Linked DNA regions of Homo sapiens: all the other regions are linked to region 1. Evidence: promoter capture Hi-C in 16 types of primary human blood cells and fetal thymus (Javierre and others, 2016). All regions are on one chromosome and are shown on one strand. The core of a region is centred on a gene start or on the middle of the fragment in contact, and the rest is flanking DNA. Distances in the headings are between cores, read along the strand shown. Region 1 holds the start of PTK2 (protein tyrosine kinase 2). Region 2 has its middle 7.6 kb from the start of PTP4A3. Region 3 overlaps SLC45A4 (solute carrier family 45 member 4). Region 4 overlaps PTP4A3 (protein tyrosine phosphatase 4A3). Region 5 overlaps PTK2 (protein tyrosine kinase 2).

The links. The method cuts DNA at HindIII sites, captures the fragments that hold promoters and counts their contacts. A CHiCAGO score of 5 or more calls a contact.
Region 2: a contact is called between a fragment that was not itself captured here and the fragment with the promoter of PTK2 in region 1, in 2 of 17 cell types (monocytes and naive CD4 T cells). The highest score is 6.8, in monocytes.
Region 3: a contact is called between a fragment that was not itself captured here and the fragment with the promoter of PTK2 in region 1, in 6 of 17 cell types (total B cells, naive B cells, naive CD4 T cells and 3 more). The highest score is 15.2, in total B cells.
Region 4: a contact is called between a fragment that was not itself captured here and the fragment with the promoter of PTK2 in region 1, in 3 of 17 cell types (activated CD4 T cells, non-activated CD4 T cells and naive CD4 T cells). The highest score is 8.2, in activated CD4 T cells.
Region 5: a contact is called between a fragment that was not itself captured here and the fragment with the promoter of PTK2 in region 1, in 1 of 17 cell types (erythroblasts). The highest score is 5.7, in erythroblasts.

What each region holds. Positions count from the first base shown.
Region 1 is chr8:140,999,977-141,002,676 of GRCh38, forward strand. It overlaps PTK2 (protein tyrosine kinase 2), which reads right to left and starts at 1,306. Exons shown (of 36, transcript NM_001352702.2): 1 at 1,149-1,306. RefSeq lists silencers at 971-1,300, 1,321-1,740. The HindIII fragment of the contact is 6,005 bases long and covers 1-2,539 here.
Region 2 is chr8:141,383,059-141,385,758 of GRCh38, forward strand. No RefSeq gene overlaps it. Among named protein-coding and RNA genes, the nearest start is that of PTP4A3, 7.6 kb to the right of the region's middle. RefSeq lists an enhancer at 1,065-1,682. The HindIII fragment of the contact is 5,174 bases long and covers 1-2,700 here.
Region 3 is chr8:141,264,501-141,267,200 of GRCh38, forward strand. The region is part of intron 1 of SLC45A4 (solute carrier family 45 member 4); the gene reads right to left. Among named protein-coding and RNA genes, the nearest start is that of SLC45A4-AS1, 11 kb to the left of the region's middle. The HindIII fragment of the contact is 257 bases long and covers 1,322-1,578 here.
Region 4 is chr8:141,405,280-141,407,988 of GRCh38, forward strand. All of the region lies in intron 1 of PTP4A3 (protein tyrosine phosphatase 4A3), which reads left to right. Among named protein-coding and RNA genes, the nearest start is that of ASTILCS, 14 kb to the left of the region's middle. RefSeq lists an enhancer at 2,028-2,528. The HindIII fragment of the contact is 1,788 bases long and covers 431-2,218 here.
Region 5 is chr8:140,660,597-140,663,296 of GRCh38, forward strand. The region is part of intron 35 of PTK2 (protein tyrosine kinase 2); the gene reads right to left. Among named protein-coding and RNA genes, the nearest start is that of AGO2, 26 kb to the left of the region's middle. The HindIII fragment of the contact is 4,196 bases long and covers 1-2,700 here.

The DNA.
Region 1 (2,700 bases), core at 56-2,555:
CTAACTATGCAAGAATGAGACACTGTTGAAATGACTCGGAAAAAAAAAAAAAAAGAAACTTTACCCTCACTGAATTTAGCTACAAAATTCTGCAATTAAATGAAACCAATTCACACACACACACACACACACACACACACACACACACACCCCTTCTTCTAAGAAAGAACAGGATGCCGCTACACAAGGAACCCAGAGAGAAATTCGGCAAACAGTTGCGCCTAAGCCACCGCGGCAGAGTCGGGGGCTGGGGGCGGGGAAGAGGAGAAAACTTGGGAAGCACAATGACTCCAGTGAGGACTTCAGTGAGGGCTCCAGGGCTCCCGCCAAGAAGCCCACGGGGCTCTACCAAACTTGAGGGTTTGCGTTCGGGGACACGGCGGGCTTGGGGCTCGGGCACCGGCAGGCCGCTCGGAGCCCACCCTTGGCTGCCCGCGAGGCCGCGCCCGGGGGACGGAGGTCGGGCCGTCGCGAGCCTCCCTCTCGCGTCCGGGCGAACCCTGCCGACGTCCCTGCGATTTCCCTCTTCCTCCTCCTGCCTCTCCCCTTTTGTTTTTCAGGCATTGGGTCCGCTCCGGCGGAGGCCGGCCCGTCCTCCCCGCGCCTCTGTCCGCCCTGCGCGCCCCCAGAGCCCCGGCCTCCTCGTCTTCCTCAGGCCCCTCGGCCTCTCCGCGCGCCCGGCCTTTTCGAAAGCCGCCCCCCCCTTCCTCCTCACGTCTCCCGGACTCCCCACGTCCCCCAGCCTTTCTGTCTTCCCCGAACCCCTTGGCCTCCCCGCGCGCCCCCAAAACCCCCGACCTCCTCGAGCTCCCGGCCTCCCCACGTCCCTCAGCCTCCCAGTCTTCCCCAAGCCTCCCGACCACCCAGCGCCCCGAACCCCCGCCTCCCAGCGCGCCCCCTGACCTCCTTAAGCCTCTCGGCCTCCGCGAGGGCCCCCAACCTCCTCACGGCCACCGGCCTCCCCTCCTCCCAGAACCCGGGCCGGGGGCGCGGGAGGGGCCGGTCTCCGCCGCATCCGCCCCGGGACTGGTTGGGCGGCCCCGCTCTGCCCCTCCGCCCTCAGGGCCGCGGCCCAGCCCACGACCGCTGCACAGAAGGAGCCCGCCCAGCCCCCGACCCGCGCCCCGCGCCCGGCGCCCCGCACTCACTCGGACCGCGGCTCGGCGCCGTGAAGCGAAGGCAGACGACGACGGGGCGGCGCTGGGCGACAGCAGCCGCGCTTCCTCCCACGCCTCACGCCGCGGGCTCACAGTGGTCCGGGACCGGCGGCGGCGGCGGCGGCGCGGGCTCGCGCCCTCGAGGCCGTGCTGCGTCGGCGCGGGCCCGCGCGCGTGCGCGGCAGCCGGCTGAGGCGCGCGTCCTCTCTCGGCAGCGCACGCCCGACCCGGTCTCAGTCCGGAGTTCCCGCCTCTCGGGGGGACTGGGCATGCGCGCCGCCCCCGCGCATGCCCAGCGCGCCGCTAGGCTCTGCTCGCGTAATTTGTCCTGTAGTGACCGCGCCGGGGTTTCGGGGTGGCCCGAGGCTGCGCGCGGGCGTGGCGGCCGGACGAGGAAAGCCCTGGTCTCGGGGGTGGCCGGGGTCGCCCCGCCGAGCGGACATCCTGGGGTCCCACCTGCCTCGCTCTCCGCCAGCGGGATTAGACGGACTTCGGGAAAGTCCTCCCCATCTCCTTCCCTGCCCCCAAATCCCGAAGGGGTCCCCTCTGGAGAACCTCCCTCCTGAGCGGCCCTGCGGCCCCGCCCCCAGAGTTGGACGCCCGCTGTCGGGCACCCGCTGCGGGCCCCGGGCCTTGCAGTGCACTCTCCAGGCACCACACCGACCCTAACGAGCGGTTCCTGGGCCCTTTTTGCAGACAAGGAAACTGAGGCTCAGAGATTCTTTTCATGGCATTATAGCTAAGTTGGGCTGGGCCATTATTTGATTTTGGAAGATGAAAAATCATGAAAGGGACTTAGAAGTCCACTGGAGGTAGACAGGTTACCTAAATGAACGCCAGCAGGGAACGAGCCCTGCAATCCCTCCCGAGGGCTACAGACCTGAGACGGGCTCCAGGAAAAGGAGGGAAGGCTCGCCCCGACACCGACCCGGGCTTCCGCGGTGTGAGCCAGTTTCAGCGAGGAGCTAGTTGGTTATGACCGGAACGTGCCGTAGGTGGGGTGGGGGAAATAGCAAAAGGCGAGGTTGGAGGGATTGAAAAATGCAGACGGCTGCGTGGGGCTTGCTTAGGTGCCTGGAGTTTATTCTTTAGGCAACAGGGAACCTTTGGAGGGCTTTAAGCAGGAAGTGATAACTGATTTGTGTTATTTAAAAAAAAAAAAAAGTCACTCTGGCAACCTTGTGGTCGGAAATGAAACCAGAAGAACCCTCAAGGCTGCAACTTTCATTTTTATGGTGTCATTTTGATGCTAACCACAAGCCAGGAAGCAGGACAGACAGGCACCGAGGCCTTTTGAAAGGTGAACACCCTGAAGCCCAGAGAGGTGACACACGTCATTGCATTAGGAGCTTTTATAAAAGTAAAAATGAAGTAAAATAAAAAGCTTTTGCTTATCAAGATTTTACCATATTTAAATGTTTGGGTTGTATTGTTCTTTAATGAGATGTATTAAGGTTGGTGTTTTTCTGGGTTTTGTTACTTTTTACTACATATGAAATTGTAAGGAATTGCCTCTCCATGCCAGCCTCAGGCCTTTGCGCGT
Region 2 (2,700 bases), core at 96-2,595, 380 kb after region 1:
GCCGGAGGACGGGGCCTGGTATCACCTTGTCCTGTGCAGGCCTGACACGTAGAAGGTGTTTGGCTGATGCTTGCTAGTATAGGAATAAGCTAGTTCTCTAACCTGGAGTTCCTCCCTGTGAGGTTTTGTTTGCAAGAAAAAATCTGCTGCTAAGCCAGCTGTGGAGGCACATGCCACAGTCCTAGCTACTCTGGAGGCTGAGGCAGGAGGAGCGCTTGAGCCCGGGAGTTTAAGGCTGCAGTGAGCCATGCTCGCACCGCTGCACTCCAGCCTGGGCAACAGAGCCAGACCCTGTCTCTTAAACAAACAAACAAACAAACAAACAAACACCCTGCTGCTAAAACATGTGGAAAGTGTGATGGACGCCACACTGGCAGTTTTGCTTCCTCAGCCAGCACCTCCCACATGCTCCCAGGGTCAGAGGTCAGGGATCAGGCTGGCTCCTGGTAGGGGGCTCTGTGTGCCCTGGCAAGTCGCCCCTCCCTGGGCCAGGAGCGAGGTGAGGGTGTCCACAGCAACAGGCTGTGTTTGGACACAAGCGGGGTGGGGCTGCACCACACGGGGCTCTTCCTGTGCCTTATAAATCAGCTCCCAAGAGCATTCCCCAAAAGGAGTTTCAGCTGCTCCCGAGCCCAGGACAGCAGGCTGGTCTCCCCTCCGGTGAGAAATCTCCTCTCCCGTCTACCACCCCAGGAGTTCCCCAGAGAGGCTCGGTTATCCTCCAAGGAGGGGATACTCGCTGCCTTGCCGAGATCGGAATCCACTTTTGCCTGTTCTCTAAGCCCTGCTGGAGATGTGGGAGTGCCCCTGCCCCACAGCCTGTTCCGAACTCACTTGGGCCATCGCCCAGCTCCAGCCTGTCTCTCAGTGTGAACCCCGAGAGCATCTTCTGCACCCAGGTGGATGGGTGGCTAACAGCATGGGCATCAGGGGCTCCTGGCTTTGCTTCCCCGCGCCTGCATTTCCTTGCTGTTTGGCTTTGGGTGATCTGCAGGAAGGAGGACTGCCACCGCCATGGCACGCGCCTGGCCTCTCCACTGGCACCTTCCTGTTGTTCCTTCCCTTGTTCGCCAACCCCTCCCTGATGTGGCCGGAGGACAGGGTCTGGTGTCGCCTTGTCCTGGCACAGGCCTGGCAGGCAGAAGGTGTCTGACTGATGCTTGCTGGATAGAGGAATAAACTAGAGCTAGATCTTGGGGCTCCCTGTGGGGTTTTGTTTGCAAGAAGAAATCCCCTTCTCTGCAGCTCCCTGGGGCTCTGTCATTGCAGAGGGGGACTGGGATGACTGGGGAGGCACGCGCCCTGCTGAGGGCAGCCACTTCTCCAGCCCAGCAGGCTGTAATCCGACATCCACAGGGATTATCCTGGTAACTGGTGGTGCATGGCCCCTGTGCTGAGAGGGCTGCAGTGTGCACGCCCCGTTTAGAGCATCGTATGGGTTCAGCATGTGTCCGCGGATGGGTGCTTGAGGAGCACCTGTCAGACGGGTGCCTGTCAGGCCATATTTTTGGCAATGGTAGCTTCCCGGGAATGAGGGATTTTTCCTGGGATAAAGGCCCCCGTGGAGGGTGGTCAGCAGCCCTGAGGACGTGGTATGAGACCCACAGCCTTCCTTGACTCCAGAGCGGCCAGGAAGCTGGGACTCCAGCAAGCTGTGCTGCCCCCACCAGTGCCTGTGTTCCCTGCATCTCACATGGAGCCTCACTCAACTCCTGTCCCTGAGTGCCCACTGGTGGGGACGAGGGAGATGGCAACTGTGGATGGATCCCAGGCCAGTGGAGAAGACAGACCCACACGCCAGGAGGATGAGGGGTTGTCAGGTTCGGGGGGCCTGGAGGCTGCCTCCTGCAGGCCCTGTCCCACGTGAGAGGGTCGGGACCTCAGGTTCCTCAGCCTGGACCTGCCGTGTCTTGGGCAGCATCCAGTGTTTGGGCCCCACGACCTCCAGGGAGGGTCACTTGTTCTGTGGCTGCCCTCTGTCCCCCACCAGGCTCCCCATGGAGGGCTCAGCATGCAGGCTCAGCACACATCAGGCATGGAGGCCCTGGCCCCACGTTCCCTGCTGCTGGGCAGTGCACAGCCTGCCTGAGCCTGGGTCCCTGGGTGGGGCCAGCTGCCCCCGCCCTCTTCTGGGCCTGGTGGGGACATTTGGACCCTCTGCATTGTTGCATCCCTAGATTCAGCCCTGCTCTGCTCCCTGTGGGGACACCAATCTCCCTTCCTCAGCCTCCCAACAGGCCTCATCTGCTGAGGAACGGGAGGCGTGGGGCCCAGGCACCAGGCCCGTCTCTTGTCCCTTCCCAGAACATCTTCTGCCTCCTCCCCTTCTCATCTTCCCCTTCACCTCCTCCCTCCTTTCTCCCTCCCTCTCTCTCTTTCCCTTCCCCCTCCCTCCCTCTTTTTCCCTTCTCCCTCCTCCCCTTCTTCCTTCTGTTCCTCGCTCTCCTCCCCCTGTCTCCTCTTTGCCTTCCTCATCATCTCTCCTCTCTCGTCCTCAGCTCAGGGACCTTCACTGAATCTGGAAAAAACAGGAGAAACAGCCTCATCACAAATTCTCCAAATTGTTCTTGGATTGAGGGTTGGGAACTTCAATGCCAGAAACAGTGTCATTTTCCTGGTTTGGCAAGGGTCTCTGAGCCCTGTGGGCCCCTCCAGGGTCTAAGAGGTCCCCAGAAAACAAGGTGGGATGAAAGCCTTCTG
Region 3 (2,700 bases), core at 200-2,699, 260 kb after region 1:
TAATAATTCTCTCATGTTTATTGCCAAGAACTTTATGAGCACGTGAACTTTTGATTCGCTCTGGGAAAAAAGTCTTTGTTGGTATTTTTATTGAGATTCCATTAATGTTATAAACTAGCCTGGGGGGAGCCAATATCCTCAGGCTGCTGAGTCGTTCTCTCCAAGAACAACAGCGCTCCTGCACCTGTCCAAGTCCACCCTGACGCCTTCGGGGAGAACTTAAAAGCAGTCCTTCCATGGTCTTCCACATTGTTTTCTCCTAATTAACCTTTGTCATGGTCACTGCAAATAGGATTTCCTCTGCCCTTATGTTTTCTAACTGGCTAGATCATGACAGCTGTTAAGTGTTGTTTATGAAGTCAGCTATAATTTACATGCAGTGAGAAGGTACTACCCAGACAGTTTCAACAAATTCCTATCAAGACAGAACCCGTCTATCATGCTGGAAAGGCCCCTGTGTTCCTTCCCATCTAATTAAGGCTATTCATTCTTATATTTTCAGTTTATAATCTAATTCTTTTGTTGTCTGAGCGAGAATGGACAAAAAAAAGAATATAACCAAATTAACAAGTCTACCAAACCATCACCAAAATATGCATAGCTGCCAACTTAAAGATGGATTGTATTTCCAAAGTTTATGGACACATGTTTGGATGTGATGGTCCATTTCCCGAGAGACAACAGTGGACACCTCGAGGCCCTCTGGTCCTCCTCACCCACAGCCCTTGCTGGGACTGGAACAAGGGCCCATGTGGTGCATATTTCCTGAACACGAAGACTCTGAGGCAGTTTGAAATCCTTCCCTTCACGGCCTCCCCCAGTCACTTCATCTCTAGGGCCTCACAAGAAATGAAAGGAAAGCAGCTCTGAGAAGAGAAGGGAGGAGTGTGCAGGGAGGGGCTGGGTGCCAGCGCGGGGCGTGTTCTCACACTGCGCGGGGGCAATCAGATACCATAAAACCAGTCCAACGCCCAGCAAACTACAGCCGTGAGGTCACTTTCTTAGAGCAAGCAAATTGTTTTCTGTAAGGAAACTATTTTATATAAGCACGAGAGCATTATCTGAAAAAAGGAAAATGATTCTTCTCTAGTACACAGCTGAAAACTCCCTACTGAGGCATGACGTCACACTGAACCCATTTAAGGGAGGTCACGCTCCTCCTTCCCCAGCACAGGCAATCCTGTACCCCTGAGAGCTGCTGTCGCCTCAGCTGCTTAAAATGCGGAGAAGCTCAAAAGTTAAGCTGTGACCTGTTCTAGTATCTCATATTCAAAAGAACAGTGAAACTTTTCGGGCAGATTTTCCCCAGCATGGAAAAGCAAGCTTCCCTTTGGAATCTGTTCCAGCGACTGTCGGGGCATTCGGTGACAACAATTTTGTTATGATTCGCAGATGCACTCAGACAAGCGAAACTACAATTGTTCCAATCAACAACTTCCTCTATTGTCCTGTTTCTAATTTAAGGGTAACTGATGCCAAAACACATGACTTCCTACAATTTGCTGAGTGGAAAAGCTGGCTGTAAACTTAAATTTCACCAAAAAGGTAACTGGAGAGTTGCTGCTGACACACACCTCAAGCTTGGGTGAAACTTTCAGATCTACAGCACAGTCCCAGCGTTCAACAGCGACAGGAGAATTCCGTGAGCCATGCTTCCTGGGAAGCGGTCTAGCGAGTCCGGACAACACGCGTCCGCACGGTGACCACAAACGTGTGCTGCCCCTTTCACAGCCCCTACACACGAAGCGCATGTACACGCACGCATGGGCCTGACACCATGGGCTGCAGACACCGCTTGTGGGCGGCACATGCTGATGAGGGCCGGCTCATGAGAACGGCTGTGTGTTTTCTGCACCCACCACCCAGAAACAGGCATGAGTAGGGGCACCCACAGTCAGACAAACCCACCACCACCATCAGCCTCGGACGGCCCCGTTCAATCTTTACCAATGCAGTTCCCCCAGTCACGGCCGGCACGTGTCTTCCTGCCTCTCCAGATGGCCACGGAGAGGAACACTAACAGCAGCATTGGCAATTCTGCGTCTAAGGCTATTTCCTGAAAAGCATGTGGGAAATCCCACTGACTTCCAGCATGAAACCAGTGTGTGTCAAGGGAAGAAGACGACAAGCCACAAACGGGGTAAAAGTATTCGCAAAAGACATATCTGATAAAAGACTGGCATCCATAATATACAAAGAGTCCTTAAAACTCAACGAAAAGAAAATGAGCTCTTCTACAAGTTCCTCCCCACATGTATTCAGTGCATGCCTGGCTGGGCAGGAAGTGTGGGGCAAGCAGTGTGTGCTGGAAGGGCGGAAATTTCCAAAACAGATCTAACAAGAGGGCCCAGATGTTGAAGTGCCTTATTCCCACAAATGTCCGCCATCACTCTACCATTAAGATACTGGAAATGAGGAAATGAAGTATTAATTTTCTAACAATTTGTGGTACCCTGGTCTGGCAAGCTGTCTTGAGCTATACTGGACTCAGAGTAGGCACATAGTCAAGCAACACGACACAGCAAGGGAGCCCCAGGACAGCGGTGGGCAGGTCCCTGAACTGCGGGGGCTGGCAGGACGGGGCAGGTGACCTGCCTGTGAACGGCCAAATCTGTGTGCGCATATAGCAAGTGCTGCATTCACCACAAGCCAGGAGACTTCCGTGACACTTCCACTGCCTTCCTTGGACTCTGGCCTTCC
Region 4 (2,709 bases), core at 75-2,574, 410 kb after region 1:
AGTTCTTTCTGGGTGCTTGGCATGTCCAGTCTTCCTTGGGGGCTCCCCAGGCAATTTTGGCTAGACACCCAGCAGACGCTCCTTCCTCCAGGCCCCCCAACCTCCGGGTCCCTGAGGTCGGAGCCAGTTTTCCCCAAGACCACCCAAGCAGTGACTTTGGGTCCACCCACAGATGCCCTGGTCACTGTGTTGCTGGGAGTGCTTGGGTGAGAAGGAATGGCTGCGGGCGGGTCTTCCTTTCTTCATCCTCAGCATCCTCATCCATCACTGAGGATGCTTGTCTCTGCCTTACTCCCACTCACAGGACAGTCGAATATGTTCACACATCCACTGAGCCAGCACCTGCTGTGTACGGTGCCCATTGAGAACCAGGGAGCCGAGGGTGGAGCTGTGGCCGGTCTCTTGTCCTGCGTGGGGAGAGAGGCTGACAAGCTTTGCCAGAAGGGGGACAGATGATCCCTACTGTGTGTGGGGGACAGAGGACAGGTCTCGGTGGCTAGCAGGAGGAACAGGAGGATGCTGAACCTGAGATCCGAGTGGTAAGAAGGGGCCAGCACCGGACGATGTGGGGACAGAGCATGCTCCTGGCCTCCAGCACAGGCAGTGCAAGGGCTCGGAGGCAGGACTGTGCTTGGCAAGTTGCAGGAACAGCTGGGAGGCAGGTGAGGCTACAGCAGATGAGGAGAGGGGAGTGGTAGGAGGTCAGAGGGCAGGGAGCAGCTCGCGTGGGGCCTTTAGGGCGATAAGGATTTTTGGCTTTCCTGAGTGACGCGGGCACCACTGGAGGCTTTGAGCGGAGGGGGCTATGATCTGACTTAGGTCGAGGACACTGGTGGGGGCAGTGGTGGGGATACCCAGGATGCCAGATGGGTATCCCAGATTCTTGGTGACCCTCGGTAGCCCCTCTGGGCGGTGGCTTTAGGCATCTGGGCTCAGGTGTCACCATTTCACTTGTCGGCCACCCACGGCTGCTTCCTGCCCCATCTGGGGATTCCGGGGACTTTCCATTTCCTCACCTTGCACTTGATTCTGTGATGTGCCTGGACTGGGGATTGTGGAGGCCTGTCCGTGCCCTGAAGCACTTCTGAGAAGCCGGGGAGCAGTTCCCTGGGGTTTCCCCTGGGAAGTCCTGCCGTCCTCTTTCTGCTGCCACCCAGAGCCCGCCCTTTCCGGAGAGCAGTTCCCTGGGGTGTCCCCCTGGGAAGTCCTGCCCTCCTGCCTCTGGCCCTTGCTCAAGCCGCGCCCCCATCTGGATGCCCACTTCTTCCACTCTGCTCTGTTGGACCAATTAGGCCAACTCTGGGGATATGTGACCCCAGTGTTTGTGATCAAACGGGGCCCAGACTCATTGACATCCTGCGTGAACTACAGTTTTGGTAGAGGTGCAAGTGGATTCTGTGTGGCACAGAAGATGGCGAGTGGTGACGGCTGTGTTGCCTGCATGCCACCGACAGCCCGCCTCTTCTTTCCATCTTAATCCATCTTGCCAGCTCTCAAGGGCTGTAGGCACTTCGCCCTGAATCCTCCTCTGAGCCGGCTTTGCCTCCTGCTGTTCCCACTGAGCGAATTAAATAAGTCTTTGCCCTGTGCCCACTGTATGTGCAAGGTCATGCAGGTTATGCTTTGAACTTCCAAAAATGCGCTCAGAAATCTTTCCTGTCCTCTAGGGCCCATCTCTGATGCCACCTTCACCTTCTGGATTCTCTCCAGGGGAGGAGGTCAGGCCCTTGGGAGGTACCCTTTGCCCTCTCTGCTGGGGATCCTGGAGAGTCCCTCCCCAACTCCCCTGGCCACTGGGACCTCTCTTCCTCCCTGACCTGCCCAGCATCCTCCCTTGGCAGCCTGGCACAGCCCGGACAGAACCTAGAAGGTGTGGATTCTGCCTGCCTGCCCTGTGTCCCCACAGTCCACATGCTGGCCTGGACTCTCAGGCCTCCCCACCTCCAGTCCCTCTCCTGCCCTCTCCATTCCTTCACACACGTGGGCACAAAGCTGGGGCTTCTGTAAGGGTGCATCTGGTAGGACCTCAACCTCCCGTACCCAATGGGGTCTTGGGAGAACAGAAGTTGTGGGTGATGGTTAAGGTGTAGCCCTCTTCCCAACCTTGCACAGCCCCCTGGCTCAGTCCCTGAGGGTAAAATTCAGACAGAGCTGGAAATGACCCAAATGTCCATCAGCTGAGGATAAACGAAATGTGGCAGGCCCACAGAGTAGAACAAGCTTGCCCAGCCAGCAGCGCGGCCCAGGACGGCTTTGAATGTGGCCCAACACACATTCATAAACTTTCTATTTTTTTTTTTTTTTTGAGATGGAGTCTCACTCTGTTGCCCAGGCTGGAGTGCAGTGGTGGGATCTTGGCTCACTGCAACCTCCACCTCCTGGGTTTAAGTGATTCTCCTGCTTCAGCCTCCCAAGTAGATGGGATTACAGGTGCCCGCCACCACACCCAGCTAATTTTTGTATTTTTAGTAGAGATGGGGTTTTGCCATGTTGGCCAGGCTGGTTTCAAACTCCTGACCTCAAGTGATCCACCTGCCTCAGCCTCCCAAAGTGGTAAGATGACAGGCGTGAGCCACCGTGCCTGGCCAAATTTGTAAACTTTCTTAAAACATCATGAGGTTTTTTGTTGTTGTTGTTGTTCATCAGCCATCATTAGCGTTAGTGTATTTTATGTGTGGTCCTAAACAATTCTTCCAGCGTGGCCCAGGG
Region 5 (2,700 bases), core at 17-2,516, 340 kb before region 1:
GCACCTGTATTCCAAGCTACTCAGGAGGCTGACGTGGGAGGACGGCTTGAGCCTGGAAGACAGAGGTTGTAGTGAGCCAAGATCGTGCCATTGCACTCCAGCCTGGGTGACAGAGCCAGACCATTATGTACGCCCCTCCCCCCGCACACATTAAGTCAGGGCAGCAATGGTGGAAGCAGCTAATGAACACAAAATGCTGTCCTACAGGGTTCGAATGCTTTGCATGGGAGAGTCTCATGATCCTTCTTATCTGTTTCTTCAACCAGTGGTGACTTATCCATTTGCTCTTTTATCAATTATGGAGCACCTATTATGTACGAGACACTTGGTGCTTGGATACAAGGAGGAAGACCTGTTTTTACCCGCAGTCTACAATGGGAAAAGCATACACAGGACCCTATAATACACTGGAATAAATCACGTAGTAGAAAAGTACATAGATAAGACAGCAATGCATTCTGTCTCAGAGAGGGTCAGAAAGACTTCACAGAGAGAATTTGTCTGAATTTGGCCTATACTGTAAAAGTAGGCTGGCTTCAACTGTGAAAGCCACACCTAGTTGATCTTTATTTGGCAGGACTTGGCAAGAGGGATAAGAGATTTTTAAGAAGGAGAATGACAAAATCTAGAGAGATATTCTAGAAAGATGGCTCTTGGCGGCAATGTGGAGGCTGAATGGAAGGGCAGGGGAACAGACAAGAGGCAGATAAACCATCTAAGAGGCCATCTTCAGAGGAGAGGTGATGGTGGATGTGCAGGTGAACGGACCAACCTGAGACCTGATGAGAGATGGAAGGTGTGTGGTTGTTTGCATGTGTGTAGGGGATTGGGAACAGACATGCAAGTGCATGGTGTTGTCACTGACTGTGGAAGCAAACAAGGAAAGCAGACCGTTCTTGCCAATGGCAGACAGTTGGAGATCAGAGCTCAGGGCGGGGTTCTATAAAATCAACACAGATTTGGGAGGCATCAAATACTTGAATCTATGAGAATGAGAAGAACTACCAGAGTGAAAAAGTATTTTTTAATAAAACAAGTGGGTAGCACTTTGGGAGATGACCACACTCAAGGGTGGCAGGGAACAAAAGCCTGAGCAGAGGTCTTGGCAGGAGAGGAGTGAGTGAGGAAGCTCTGGGCCAGAGCAGGGGGTCTCAAGGGGGAGTTAGGACTGAGGGGAAAGCAGGGGCTCTGGCAATTAGGAGACCTTGAAGGGCTGTTACAGCAGAGAGAGTTCCAAACAGCTGGAGCACTGGAATGCTCTGAGCTGGCGCTGAGTGCAGCTGCCATGTGAGGAGGTGGCCCCATCAGGGATGGGCTGCTCTTTCAGGAAGTACAATGGGGACAGGAGGAGGCATGAGGACAGTGAAAGGCAGATGCAGGATCAAAGACAGGCTCCTCTTCTTTTCAAAAATGATTTAAGGCCAGGTGTGGTGGCTCACGCCTGTAACCCCAGCACTTTGGGAGACCGAGGTAGGAGGATGGCTTGAAGCAGGAATTTGAGACCAGCTTGGGCAACACAGTAAGACACTGTCTCTACAAAAAAATAAAGAATTAGCTGGGCGTGGTGGTATACAACTGTAATCCCAGCTACTTGGGAGGCGGAGGCAGGAAGATCACTTGAGCTCAGGAGTTGGAGGTTATAGTGAGCTGTGATGGAGTCACTGCATTCCAGCCTGGGTGACAGAGACAGACCCTGTCTCAAAAAAAAAAAAATTAATAATTAAAAAATACTGTATACAGGAGAGCAATTTGTGTATTGGAATCAGGGGAGATGAAAAGATTACTTTAGACTTTATCAACTAGAGTAGGTGTTGACAAATAGTCCCACTAAAATATCCACTTGGTAGGACACCATTTTCTTGCCTCTAGCATATGGAACTTCTCCACTTTGGGGCAAAACTGAGGCTTGTCATGGAAAGCCAGAGGCCCGGTGAAGCAGGTAAGTGAGAGAACCCCATTTGGTTGGGATGTGAAGTTACACTACAGCACCAGTCACAGGCCTTCTCAAAAACAAGTTAAAGGGTTTATGCATATGAATCAATGCCACTTACAAAGGAATCACCAACAGGAGTTGTGTCCAACCGTCCTTCAGAAGTCAATGTCCAGTTGGTCAACTGGAACATCCCCTGGACATCGTATGTCTCTGGGTATGATGCTGAGAAGGATTCAGCATTATTTATGTTGTATTCCTGACTGGAGATGCAAAATCTCAATCTCATCAGGAAGAAACAAATGTTTATAGGATATCCCTCAATCCAACTTTAAGAATACTCTATAAAATCACTGAGCCTATGTTTGTCAAAAATGTCAATGTCATGAAAGATAAAAAAAGGCTGAGGAGCTGTTTCAGATGAAAGGAGGCTGAAGAAAGCAACACCACGTGCAAAGTGTAATCCTGGTCTGGCTCTCACAGGCGACGGAAAAGTGCTACAGAGACAACCGACGACCCTGGAACGTGCCCTGCAGAGTGGGACAGTGCATTACATCATGTTAAAGTTCCAGAATGTGGTGATTGTGTGGTGGTTATGTAGGACAATGGCCTTGTTATGAGAAATATAAATGGAAATCTTAAAGGGGAAGAGGGCATGAGATACACAGCCATTCTCAAGCTGCTCGACAGCAGGAAGTGATGTGTGTACACACATAGACAATGGAGCAAGGTGACAATGTGCTGACATGTTAAAAGGCTGTGAAACTCAA